Regions from separate parts of the Homo sapiens genome. Here region 2 is linked to region 1. The links are contacts of gene promoters, found by promoter capture Hi-C in human tissues and cell types (Jung and others, 2019). All regions are on one chromosome and are shown on one strand. Each heading gives the region's core, a stretch centred on a gene start or on the middle of the fragment in contact. The rest is flanking DNA. Distances are from core to core; before and after follow the strand shown. Region 1 holds the start of CEP85 (centrosomal protein 85). Region 2 has its middle 14 kb from the start of MIR3917.

Region 1 (6,481 bases), core at 2,135-4,634:
TGGATACATAAAATGTGGTATATCCAAAAAACAGAGTATTATTCAGCAATAAAAGGAAGTACTGATACATGTGACAACATGGATGAACACTGAAGACATGCAAAGTCAAAGAAGCCAAACAAAAGGCTTGATCCTATTTATATGAAATGTCAGAATAGGCAAATCCATAGAGACACAGATTAGTGATTGCAAAGGACTGAGAGGAGGGAGGGTAGGAGAATAGGAAGGGACTGCTAATGGATACCGGGTTTCTTTTCAGGGTGATCAAAATGTTCTGAGATTAGATAGTGGTGACTGACTGCACAACCTTGCCAATATATTAAAAACCTCTGAATTGCACACACATAAAATTAAATTTTATGTTATGTGATATAAGCCAAAAAAAAAATTCTAAGACATCCCCAACCACCTGAATGGATCCCTCCCCTTGGCCAATGGCATTCCAAAGTTAAGCTGAAAAACCTGTTAAGGCCATGATGGTGGTAGTGGTGGTGGAGTCCTACACCCCTCATTATACCCTCCTCCCTTCTGGAATTTAGGAAAAGCATTAACATTAACACAGATGTCTGTAAGAAACATTTATAATCTATTCTCTCTAAAGCCTACTATTTGGAGGCTTCATCTGTACAATAAAATGTTGATCCCCAGGATACCTTAACCCAGACATTCCTTTCTATTGATAACAACTTTCAACCAACTGCCAATCAGAAAATTTTGAAATCTACCTATGACCTGGAAGCCCCCACCCACTAAGAGTTGTCTTACCCTTCCAGATCAATGTAAATCTTACATGTATTTGACTGATGTCTCATGTCTACCTAAAATGTTTAAAACCAGGGCACACGTTATCAGGATCACCTGAGGGCTGTGTCAGGGGCCACTGGTCACCCATATTTGGCTCAGAATAAATCCCTTCAAATATTTCAGAGTCTGACCCTCATTGACAACAAATATCTCAAAAAAGAAAAACAGAAAGAAAGAAACCCCGTAAGGAGTAAAACAATACAAAATAAATCATTCTTGACTTAAGAATTAGATGAGCTACTGGTGGAAATTTTTGGGACAACTGAAGGAGACAGAAATTTCCTGGGATAAAAATGAGAGAAGTGAATGTACAAGAAGTAACACACCAGTTATAAAGCTTAGAAAGGGAGTGAATGGAGGCAGACAGAGGGGAAAAAAAAAAAAAGCACCCAACAGGATTGGTTTCCATCTTCAAAGCCCTTTAAACTACAGAAACAGTCACTCATTCAACAAATTTAACATGCATTCTGCACTTACTACCTATCAAACACTGTGCTCAACACTTTTTAAGTATCATGTCTCATGTTTCATGTTCACATCAACCCTATGAGGCAGTTACTATTATCCTCATTTTATGGATGAGAAAATAAAGGTTTACAGTAGTGAAGGTCATATGGCTAGGAAGAGGCTTCAAAGCCAGGACTGTACTCTAACGCTACAGTAGTCTAGTCAGCATTCTACATGTGACAAAACACAAAAAAAGAGATCAAGCATGGCACCACAAGTTGGAGTTTCTGCCTCAGACAGCTAGAGCTGCAAGCCTCAATTATATGAGCAGTAAAAGCTCATAAAATTTCTTCACTTTGTCCTTGGTCATCACCTAGGCTTTATTTCTCAAGTTGCTACCCAAGAATTAGATTTTGACTGCCGTAAGTATTTTTCCCCTATAAGAATTACAATCTAAGTGTGGCCGGGCGTGGTGGCTCACGCCTGTAATCCCAGCATTTTGGGAGGCCGAGGCGGGCGGATCACCTGAGGTCGGGAGTTTGAGACCAGCCTGACCAACATGGAGAAACGCCGTCTCTACTAAAAATACAAAATTATCCGTGCATGGTGGCGCATGCCTGTAATCCCAGCTACTCGGGAGGCTGAGGCAGGAGAATCGCTTGAACCTGGGAGGCGGAGGTTGCGGTGAGCCGACATCGCGCCACGGCACTCCAGCCTGGGCAACAAGAGCAAAACTCCGTCTCACAAAAAAAAAAAAAAAAAAAAGAATTACAATCTAAGTGTGGAACATCATGCTTGGCAGCTGTTAAGAGAACCACATCAAGACAAGAGAGGATTTGAAGGGATACACAGACAGCTGACACAGACACACGAAGGATCTCACACCATTACACTATTTTCACCGCCTTGATCATTCATTAAACCTTGTGAAAGAGAAGCCAAATCCTTGACAAGAAGTTGCCTTTACAAAGAAAAGTCGTGAGACATACAAAACCACCAGATCACTATAAAGCAGACAAGGTTTGAGGGCAAATAAATGAGGCCTGGCTAGCTTCATCGTCCTTGTATCACCACCGCCCCCTACTTATCCCAGTGTTCAATTCATCAACCGAAATTTACTGCGTGCCTACTATGCGCCTGGCTCTGAGCCACGTGTTGGGAATGTACTGGTGTAAAGGATCGCTCTCATTAACTGAGGTGAAGTAAGCGTTGAATATACTGTTGAACAAATAAACCTGAACACACTAACTTTCAGTTCAACCAAAGCACCAGCTCCTTCTCGCTGAAGGAAGCTTCCTCACCTTCCGCCCTACTGACATTTTGGGGGATTTTTCTTTGTTGTTGGGGGCGTCCTACACACAGTAGGCTGTGTAACAGCATCCCTGGCTTCTTCGCACTAGATGCCAGTAGCAAGCCCTGGAGCTGTGACTATCAAAAGTGTTTCCAGACATCGACCAATGTCCCCAGGGAAGCAAAATCGCCCCGGCCGAGAAGTACCGGGGTAAGGCCCCGCCAAGTGCTTTCCGTCCCACAACCTTAATTCTCTACACAGCCTTCCAATCTCGGCTCAAACTTCTCCTCCTCGGGGAGGGCTCCCTGACCTCTCCGACTAGATCCGCGCCTTCTGTTTTGCGCTCTTTGTAAGATTTCTCCACTCTACCCTCACTGCGCGCCGAGGGATTACCCCGCTTAACGTCGACTCCCAGGGCTGTGCGCTCCGCAAGGGCAAGGAATGCGCCGCTCGCTGTGTCCCTGGCTATCGGCACAGGGCCTGGCACGCAGGTAAAGTGACTGCCGTGGGGTGAACCACGGACGGCAAAGCAAGGCAACGGGGGAAGCGAGGGGAATGGGACGCGAGAGGGCGTATGCCGGGGCACTGGCTTCGGAGCCGAGGCGCATGCGCTTCGCTCTCCCCGGCCCCTCACGGTGGCAGGTCGCGAGCGTCTGAGGCTTCGCCGGAGCTATGGGAGGAGAGGCAAGGTCGGCCACTAGGACTGAGGCTCCCGAAGGAGGAAAACTTACACGGGCCTGAAAGCGGGCGGCGAAATCCCTCACTCGGGAAGACTGACTGCAGCCACCACGTCTGCGGTGAGCGGTGGTTCCCTCCCTCAGCTCCTCTAACGGCCGTTGCACGCCCGCCAGGCCGCGCGCCACAGAACGCGCGTCGTTTGGCCCCACCCCGTTCTGCCGCCTCTGGCCAATCGGGAGTCGAGCCGCGCCGGCTTCCCGCCCCTTTCTATCCTCTTCTGACCAATCGGCAGCCGAGCCGCGTCGGTATCCCGCCCCCACACGCTACCCTCTGCTCAGAGAGCCGGACGGATCTTTCTGCGCATGACCACGTCGCCACTTGGCTCCTTCTCTGCCCCTTGCCGCGTTTTACCTGTAGGTGGAGCTCTGCTCACCTAGACCTGGAGGGGCCCTGCTGGGCCTGTGCAGGTTGGGAAGCTGGCGGCCCGCGGGCGGGGCTGGGGACACGAGAATCCCACTCAGCTTGCCTCACCCTCCTTCCATTCCAACGCCGGTCTATCAGTTCTCACACCTGAAGCAGGGGTTCAGGTTGTGACCAGGAGTTAGGGTGTGGCCTGGGTCACTGACTAGTCAGGGTCAAGGCTTGGTCTGGGTTGGACGCAGTGGTCAGCCTGTGACCAAGGTTCAGGTTGAAGGGTAAAGGATCAGTCCTGCCTCCCTCCCCAAACTTGGTCCACAGGAAAAGGAACTGTTAAGTCCATTTGCATTAATATGCGCTTGAAGAGTCAGACAGGAAAATTGTTTGAAAGGAGAACAGAACCATCAGCCAAAGGAATGAATCTCAGATAGTGAAATTCTGGGTATCTAGAAACCTGACTTGGCAGGGAGAGATACTAAAAAATTGTATAGGAGGCCGGGCGCGGTGGCTCATGCCTGTAATCCCAGCACTTTGGGAGACAGAGGAGGGCGGATCACGAGGTCAGGAGATCGAGACCATCCTGGCCAATATGGTGAAACCCCGTCTCTACTAAAAATACAAAAATTAGCTGGGTGTGGTGGCGCATACCTGTAATCCCAGCTACTCGGGAGGCTGAGGCAGCAGAATCGCCTGAACCAGGGAGCCGGAGGTTGCAGTGAGCCGAGATCGTGCCCCTGCACTCCAAAAAAAAGTTGTATGGAAAAAAAAAGTTGTATAATTTCTTAGCTTTAAGAGCCAGACAAAGTGAGTTCATTACTGAATAAAAGTCACTCTAGAGGAAAGACCCTAGGGATGTGCCCCAAGGTTGTATCCTTTGTCCTCTCTTTTAGTATTTTAAGATAAGAATATAGAAGACATAAAATAGCAGATTTAATGGATAATGAAAATGAACCTGGGTATGATATGAAATTAGGACCAGAAGCCTCTGTTAACGTAAAGGCTAAAAAAAAAAATGTTAAGACAGGGTGTCTAAATGAATAAATTTATGGACTGAAGGGTAGAAAGCTAGAAAGTGTTAGTCCTGGCCGGGCACGGTGGCTCACGCCTGTAATCCCAGCACTTTGGGAGGCCCAGGCAGGTGGATCACTTGAGGTCGGGAGTTTGAGACCAGCCTGTGGCCAACATGATAAAACCCTACTAAAAATACAAAATTAGCCAGGTGTGGTGGTGGGCACCTGTAATCCCAGCTACTGGGGAAGCTGGGGCAAGAGAATCACTTGAACTCAGGAGGAGAGGTTGCAGTGAGCCAAGATCACTGCACTCCAGCCTGGGCAACAGAGCGAGGTTCTGAAAGAAAGAAGGAAAGAAGGAAAGACGGAAGGAAAGAAGGAAAGAAAGAAAAAGAAAGAAAGAAAGAGAAAGAAGAGTCAGAAAACATTGAAAGGCTTCCATTTCTTTTGTGAAAGGCATATGTGAGGAGGGAGGGAACAGGGGCATCTAGAGGACTGAGAAGAATTAGGAAGATGTGAATTGCTGATACAGAGGATAGAAGAGAAATCCGACTGGAAACATAGTGGAAGTGTTGAGATTTAAATTTACAAATAGCAAACAGTACATTTGTACAGTTCTTTGTAATAGATATCTATAGTTTAAAAGTAATTCCATTATCTACTGTCAATTTTCTTTTTTGTTTTGTTTTGAGACAGAGTCTTGCTCTGTCACCCAGGCTGGAGTGCAGTGGCACGATCTCAGCTCACTGCAACCTCTGCCTCCCAGGTTCAAGCAATTCTCCTGTCTCAGCCTCCTGAGTAGCTGGGACTATAGGCACCCACCACTACACCCGGCTAATTTTTGTATTTTTAGTAGAGACGGGGTTGCACCATGTTGGCCAGGCTGGTCTCGAACTCCTGACCTCAGGTGATCTGCCCGCCTTGGCCTCCCAAAATCCTGGGATTACAGGCGTGAGCCACCGTGGCCGGCCCTACTGCCAATTTTCAAATGTGAATGACTTGTCATATGTATATATATACATATATGCTAGTCAGGGTTATTGCACAGTCTGAGGCTAGGGTCAGGGCTTGGTCTGGGTTGGAGGCACTGGTCAGCCTGTGACCAGGGTTTAGTTTGAAGGGTAAGGAATCAGTCCTGCCTTCCTCCCCAAACTTAGTCCCCAGGAAAAGGAACCATTAAGTCCATTTGCGTTAATATGAGCTTGAAGAATCAGACTGGAAAATTGTTTCAAAGGAGGAACACACACACACACACACACACACACACACAGACACACATGCATTTGAGAAGGAGTCTCTTTATGTTGCCCAGGCTGGGCTCAAACTCCTGGGCTCAAGCTATCCTCCCGTTCAACCTCCAGAGTAGCTGGGACTACCAGCATGTGCCACCACTCTCAGCTCATTTATATTTTAACAGAGACTTTTGGTCCTAGTTTCAGAGAATATTCATGACCAACCTCTTTAGATATATTCTTTGTTTTTTTCTGAGATGGAGTCTTGCTTTGTCGCCCAGGCTGGAGTGCAGTGGAGCGATCTCGGCTCACTGCAACCTCTGCCTCCCGGGTTCAAGCGATTCTTCTGCCTCAGCCTCCTGATTAGCTGGGACTACAGGCGCACGCCACCATGCCTGACTAATTTTTGTATTTTTAATAGAGACGGGGTTTCACCATGTTGGCCAGTCTGGTCTCAAATTCCTGACCTTGTGATCCACCCACCTTGGCCTCCCAAAGTGTTGGGATTACCGGTGTGAGCGCCTGGCCAATATAAGATATTCTTAAATTGTCAGTTACATTATTATTTTTAAAAGACTAGCTGGATGTATTAGTCTGTTCTC
Region 2 (6,481 bases), core at 1,326-3,825, 310 kb after region 1:
GGAAAAAGCGCCAGCCCTCCGAGTCGTCCCAGCGGTCAGAGGAAGGGAGCCAGCCTCCCAGGCTCCAAAAATTGGGCTGGGCGGTGCCGGCGGCTTTTGTTCTTTCCCTCGAATTCTCTCGCTGGTCTTTCCTTCCTTGAAGAGGAAAACGGAAACCTGCGACCAGCTCCCGGAGAGAAACACCCAGACCAAGACTGGCCCTTAACCGGGGATGGGGCCTAGGGGCTGGGTCCTCTCCCGAGTCACTGAATCCACTTCGGGGAAGCCCTAGCAGACTTTGGTCCGCACCCGGAGTGGAGGACCAGGTTCCTGCCGCGGGCGTCCCCAGCCTGCTCCGAGACCCGGAGTGCCAAGTGCTTCCATCCCTAGTCGTTTCTTACTCAATCCTAGTTCTTCCTGAAGCTAACGGCAGGCACTGGCCGCGGCGCCTCCCGGGCGGGCACCTCCCAGCGACCTGGGTGGGCGCGGCCGCGTGCGCCCGGGGGTCTGGGCTTCTCCGCCACTCGCGAACGCGACCTCGTGCGGTTTCCCGCAGCCCTGGCTCCCCGCCAGCCAGAGACCCCACCCGCTCCCAGGTCCCCGCGAGCTGCCGGGAGGGGACGTCGCGGCACGTGTCAGTACTGCGGTCGGGCTTGCACCTCCGCCCGGATGCGGATTGGCCCTGGCGGGCTCCGCACCGCCAGTGAGCCCGGCCTTCTCTTCTCCTAGCACAGAGCTGCTGCCCTGAAAAATCAGCTGTTAGAGACGCCATTTCGGTCCCCACCCTTGTCTCAGCCAAGGAAGAGCCAATCACAACGCTTGTGTGTCGCTGTGCAAGCCGCAGGTGGGGTGGGAGAGCAGATCCGTGGAGCGCAGCGAAGCCATTTTCTGGAGGATTCGCAGTCATGTCCACTGCTGCTGGATAACTTCCACTGATGGTGGGATAATCACCATGTTTAATTTCAGCCATTCCCTCCCCGCCAACTCCCTCTCACACCGTGGCCTTTCCTTTCCCCAAGCGATGTGGGGTCTAGTCTTGACCCTGAACCTAACCCACTCTGTGACCCAGCCTCAGGCCTCGGTCTTTTCAGCTACAAAAATGCAAGGAAGGAATAAAATTAGACAATGGCAAATATTGGTGAGGTTATGGGGAAATGCATTCTCTGGATTTGTCTTTAAACTGGAAATATTCATGACATGTGCCAGATAATCCTATGTCTTGGTCTCTACCCTAGAAAAATATTTGCACATGTACTCAGGAAGGCTGTCTCTTGCGGGACCATATCTAATAACAAACCACTGAAAAGAGCTCAAGGGCTGTCCATAGGGAATGAATGAATACAATGGGGTCTATCTACATAACGGGTCACTGCATCACAGAAGGAATAAGCCAGATCTATGCATGCAGAGAAATGGATAGAGCTCTAAAATATATTAAGTAAAAGTAGAAAGTTGCACAATAATGCATACAATATAATACAATTTTTGTAACATGTTAAGCAGAACTGTGGATTTTCTGTGATTACATTCAAACAGAACATAAAAGCATTTTTTAAAAAATAACTGAAAAATTATTTTCAATTCAGTTCTTTTCAGTTCAGTTCCAGTTCACTCCTAATTCATCTGAGTGGCTGTCTCTGGAGAGAGGGGCGGGGAGTTGGGATAGCAAGTGGAGATGAGAGGCAACTTCAGCTTTCTTTGTAATATTCTAATTTTATTTTTTAAAATGAGAGCCGGGTGCAGTGACTCACCCCTGTAATCCCAGCACTTTGGGAGGCCAAGGCAGGCAGATCACGAGGTCAGGCGTTCAAGACCAACCTGGCTAACATAGTGAAACCCCATCTCTACTAAAAATACAAAAATTAGCCGGGCGTGGTGGCGCCTGTAGTCCCAGTCACTCGGGAGGCTGAGGCAAGATAATCGCTTGAACCCAGGAGGCGGGGGTTGCAGTGAGCTGAGATCGCGCCACTGCCATCCAGCCTGGGTGACGCAGCGAGACTCTGTCTCAATAAATAAATAAATAAATAAATAAATAAAATAAAAATGGCAGTACATTAATATATTACTTAAGGAATTTTAAGCTGCATGTTCATGAAATACTGGAGACAAGTATGTCAAAATGTAAACAGTGGTTTAATTCCAGGTGATAGGAAATATGAATAATTGTTATTTTCTTCTTTGTACTTTTTGGGTTTTTAGTTTTTCAACATGCAGGGAAGGGATTCAAGAGTGACTGTGTGACCCATCAGGTCCCTCAGCTCAAAGAACCTGCAATGTTGTGATTCTAGATGGTCATCCTTAAAGTCCTAGCTCCCCGCCCAACCCCAAAGGGCTTACACATTTTGCAGGGCAGGGGAGCCTCAACACTGGCGCTCCACTGGGGAAAGTTCTTGGCTTCCACCAGGAAAGAATTCAAGGGTGAACTAGTGGTAGAAGAAAACAGCTTTATTGAGGCAGCAGTGTTACAGCTCCGTGACTGTTCCCACTGAGGAGAGAGTGGAGTCTAGCAGCTCAGGGGCAGTTCTGCAGTTTCATTTATATCCACTTTTAATTACATGCAAATTAAGGGGCAGGTTATTCAGAAATTTGTTTTTATTTGAGACACAGTCTCACTCTGTCGCCCAGGCTGGAGTACAGTGGTACAATCTCGGCTCACTGCAACCTCCACCTCCCGGGTTTAAGTGATTCTCCTGCCTCAACCTCCAGAGGTGCTGGGATTACAGGTGTGTGCCATCATGCCTGGCTAATTTGTGTATTTTTAGTAGAGATGGGGTTTCATCATGCTGGCCACGCTGGTCTCGAACTCCTGACCTCGTGATCCGCCTGCCTCAGCCTCCCAAAGTGCTGGGATTACAGGTGTGAGTCACCGCGCCTGGCCGGTTATCCAGAAATTTCTAGAAAAAGGTGGTAACTTCCAGGTTGTTGCTAGGGAATGGGTAAACTGTCATGGCACTGGTAGGCACGTCAGCCAGTCTTAAATCTCATTCAGTGTCGAGTCCTGCCTCCTACCTCACAAGGAATGGCCTTGGTGCTGCTGCCCCAGATCCCCTCCCCTGTCTCAAATCCAGGGTTAACATCCCTCAACTTGAAACCTGCTGGAGGGACAGGGCAAACTACTTGCAGTTCAGCTACTGCTCTAGGCTGGCTTCTTCTAGGCATTTGGCTGTGCTATTTCCTCTTCCTGGCACCCTCTCCCCATTCCTCTTTGCCTACAAGCTTCCTTCAGGCCTCATCAGCTCAGCCACCCCTTTCTCTAGGAGGCCTTCCTTGTTTCCCCTCCGCTGCCTGGGTTAGCCTCTGCTCCCCTGCGCCCCATCAGTGCTCTGAGCTGCTTGTCTACTTACTATGAGCTCTTGAGGCCAGGGACATGCCTTCTTTCTTCCTGTGCTCCCAGGGCCTAGTACAAGACATGACACCTCATGGTTCATCAGTAACCTTCTGTTGAATGAATGGACAATCAGCATCAAAACAACAAATTCTTCCCTGGGCTGAGTTTTCTGGTACTCATCCTAAAAACTCTGCGGAAGGTAAGAGGCAGAATCAGGATGTGAACTCAGAGACCCTGACTCCAGAGCCCACACTCTTAACCACTGTGCTCTGAGCCCCTAATGAACTTGGCTGGTTCATATACCAACTATGTATTGAGAACCTAGTATTTGTCAGGCACTGTTCTATGGTAATGAAGAAAACAGACTTGAAAAACCAACTGTTGGGTAATCTATGCTACCATCTGGGTGGCAAGATCATTGGTATCCCAAACCTCAGCATCACACATTATACCCATTTAAGAAATCTGCACATGTACCTCCTGAAATAAAAGTAGGATTTTTTTTTTTTTTTTTTTTTTTTTTTTTTTTAGACAGAGTCTCTCTCTGTCGCCCAGGCTAGAGTAAAGTGGCTCAATCTTGGATCACTGCAGCCTCAGCCTCCCAGGTTCAAGCATTCTCCTGCTTCATCCTCCCGAGTTGCTGGGACTACAGGTGTGAGCCACCACGGCCAGTATTTTTAGTAGAGATGGGGTTTCGCCATATTGGCCAGGCTGATCTGGAACTCCTGGGCTCAAGTGATCTGCCCATCTTGGCCTCCCAAAGTGTTGGGATTACAGGCGTGAGCCACCATGCCCAGCTGGAAAAATTTTTTTTTCTTTTTTTTTTTTTCAAGACCGAGTCTTGCTGTGTCGCCCAGGCTGGAGGGCAGTGGCGCAACCTCGGCTCACTGCAAGCTCCACCTCCCGGGTTCACGCCATTCTCCTGCCTCAGGCTCCCGAGTAGCTGGGACTACAGGCACCTGGCCACCATGCCTGGCTAATTTTTTTTGTATTTTTAGTAGAGACGGGGTTTCACCGCGTTAGCCAGGATGGTCTCGATCTCCTGACCTCATGATCCTCCCGCCTTGGCCTCCCAAAGTGCTGGGATTACTGGCGTGAGCCACCGCGCCAAGCCAATTTTTTTTTTTTTTTTAAGGTATCAGCAGAACATGCTCGTCCTCCTGCCCGGGTGGGGCCTGCACTCTCCAGTGTGCTGCCTGCTCTGTCCCCTCTGGTGCCGCCTCTTCTCCTGACCCCTCCGTAGGGATTTGGGTTATGAGCGCCTATGTGGGAGGGGCAGACTGAGGACCAATTGGGAGGCTGCCTGGTAATCCAGTAGAGTGATGGGGCCTGCATCCACCCCAGGGCAGTACTGCTTTCTCATTCATGCACGGGCTTAGTTGAAAGAGGTCTTGGTATCTAAGAGCAATAAGCCCCCAAGGTCTACAATCGAAGGGGTTCCAGGCTGGGGTGGTGGTTCACGCCTGTAATTCCAGCAGTTTGGGAAGCTGAGGCAGGCGAATCACTTAAGATCAGGAGTTTGAGACCACCCTAGCCAACGTGGTGAAACCCTGTCTCTAATAAAAATAGAAAAATTAGCTGGCTATGGTGGCGTGTGCCTTTAATCCCAGCCACTCTGATAGCTGAGGCAGGGAAATCGCTTGAACCCAAGAGGCTGAGGTTGCAGTGAACCAAGATCGCACCACTGCATTCCAGCCTGGGTGAGAGAGTGAGACTCCATCTCAAAAAAAAAAAAAAAAAATCAATGGAGTTCCAATGAATGACACATCTGCTTTTCTTCCCCTCCTGTATTTTCTCTTGCACAGCATCCCACCCTTTGCCACCTGACACCCCAGCCACCCCCAGCTTCCCAGCTTGACTTCTACAACGTGTAGACTTTCATCCGTCTCAGAATGGGTGTGATATCAGCAGCCTTCGTTTCCACTTCCTGTGACAGCTGTAACCTCTGTTCTCACTGAATTGCTAAGATTGCTGATAGAAGCCAACTGCTTGGAAGCTTTTTAAGTGACTAGGATCAAGCTCCGTGCCAAGGCATGGAAAAATGGGCTACGGAATGGCCCAGAAATTTAGTGAATTAAACTAGTAATTCCCCCTTGTTTCTAGGCCCACAAGAGCCCATTCAAGAAACAGAGTAGATCTAAAATGAAAATCATTTTAGCTTCATGTGGGAGGAAGCGTCAATCTTCCCATAGGAAGCACCAGAAGCCCAGCAGAGGACAAGAGCCGAGCCCTGGCCTCCTCATTAAAATAAATGTCACTGGCTAAGGAGGCAAGATGCAACGTGCAAGGTGGTATCCTGGATTAGATCCTGTAACACAAAAAGGGACCCCAGTGGAAAAATGGAGAATCCGATTAAATTCAGCCATTCAGTTAATAGTATTGTACCAATGTTAATCTGTTAGTTTGGATAAATGTACCATGATTATGTAAGATGTTAACACCAAATGAAGCTGGCTGAAGGGCATACGGGAACTCCGTGTACCATCTTTGCAACTCTCTGGAAATCGAAAATGGTTGATTTCAATTGAAGTTTAAAAACAAATAAAATAATTTAAAAAAAAAAAAAAGAGACCAGGCGCGGTGGCTCACACCTGTAATCTCAGCACTTTGGGAGGCCGAGGCAGGCGGATCACGAGGTCAGGAGTTTGAGACCAGCCTGACCAACATGCTGAAACTCCGTCTCTACTAAAAATACAAAAATTAGCCAGGTGTGGTGGTGCGCAACTGTAATCCCAGCTACTCAGGAGGCTGAGGCAGGAAAATCACTTGAACCCAGGAGGCAGAGTTTGCAGTGAGCTGAGATGGTGCCACTGCACTCCAGCTTGGGTGACAAAGCGAGACTCCATCTCAAAAAAAAAAAAAAAAGAAAGAAAGAGATGTCACTGGAATAGTCTTTTTGAATTTGCAAGGGACTAGACTGCAGATTATACACTCAGATATGCCATCTGACCTTAAGCCCTAAGTGTTGTTTGGTGGCCAAAAAGACACTGGCCAAATGATTCAACACTCACAGAGTGTCTGTGGCACTTCAGGGATGGCAAGACAGAATCACATAGGATCCTGCCCTGAAGGAGTTTACTCACTAGTGAGAGGGACAGACATGTATATGGATAGCTGCAACAGCAGCATAGTGGTGAGGGAGAGAGAGGTTAGTCAAGACCTTGAAGGTGGAGA

The links. Contacts are between HindIII fragments. The study calls those that stand out against the background at their distance.
Region 2: a contact is called between a fragment that was not itself captured here and the fragment with the promoter of CEP85 in region 1, in 1 of the 25 tissues and cell types used here (bladder).

What each region holds. Positions count from the first base shown.
Region 1 is chr1:26,231,103-26,237,583 of GRCh38, reverse strand. It overlaps CEP85 (centrosomal protein 85), which reads right to left and starts at 3,384. Exons shown (of 14, transcript NM_001319944.2): 1 at 3,274-3,384. RefSeq lists enhancers at 2,516-2,565, 2,656-2,715, 3,036-3,185. The HindIII fragment of the contact is 8,629 bases long and covers 1,843-6,481 here.
Region 2 is chr1:25,916,925-25,923,405 of GRCh38, reverse strand. No RefSeq gene overlaps it. Among named protein-coding and RNA genes, the nearest start is that of MIR3917, 14 kb to the right of the region's middle. The HindIII fragment of the contact is 9,013 bases long and covers 1-6,481 here.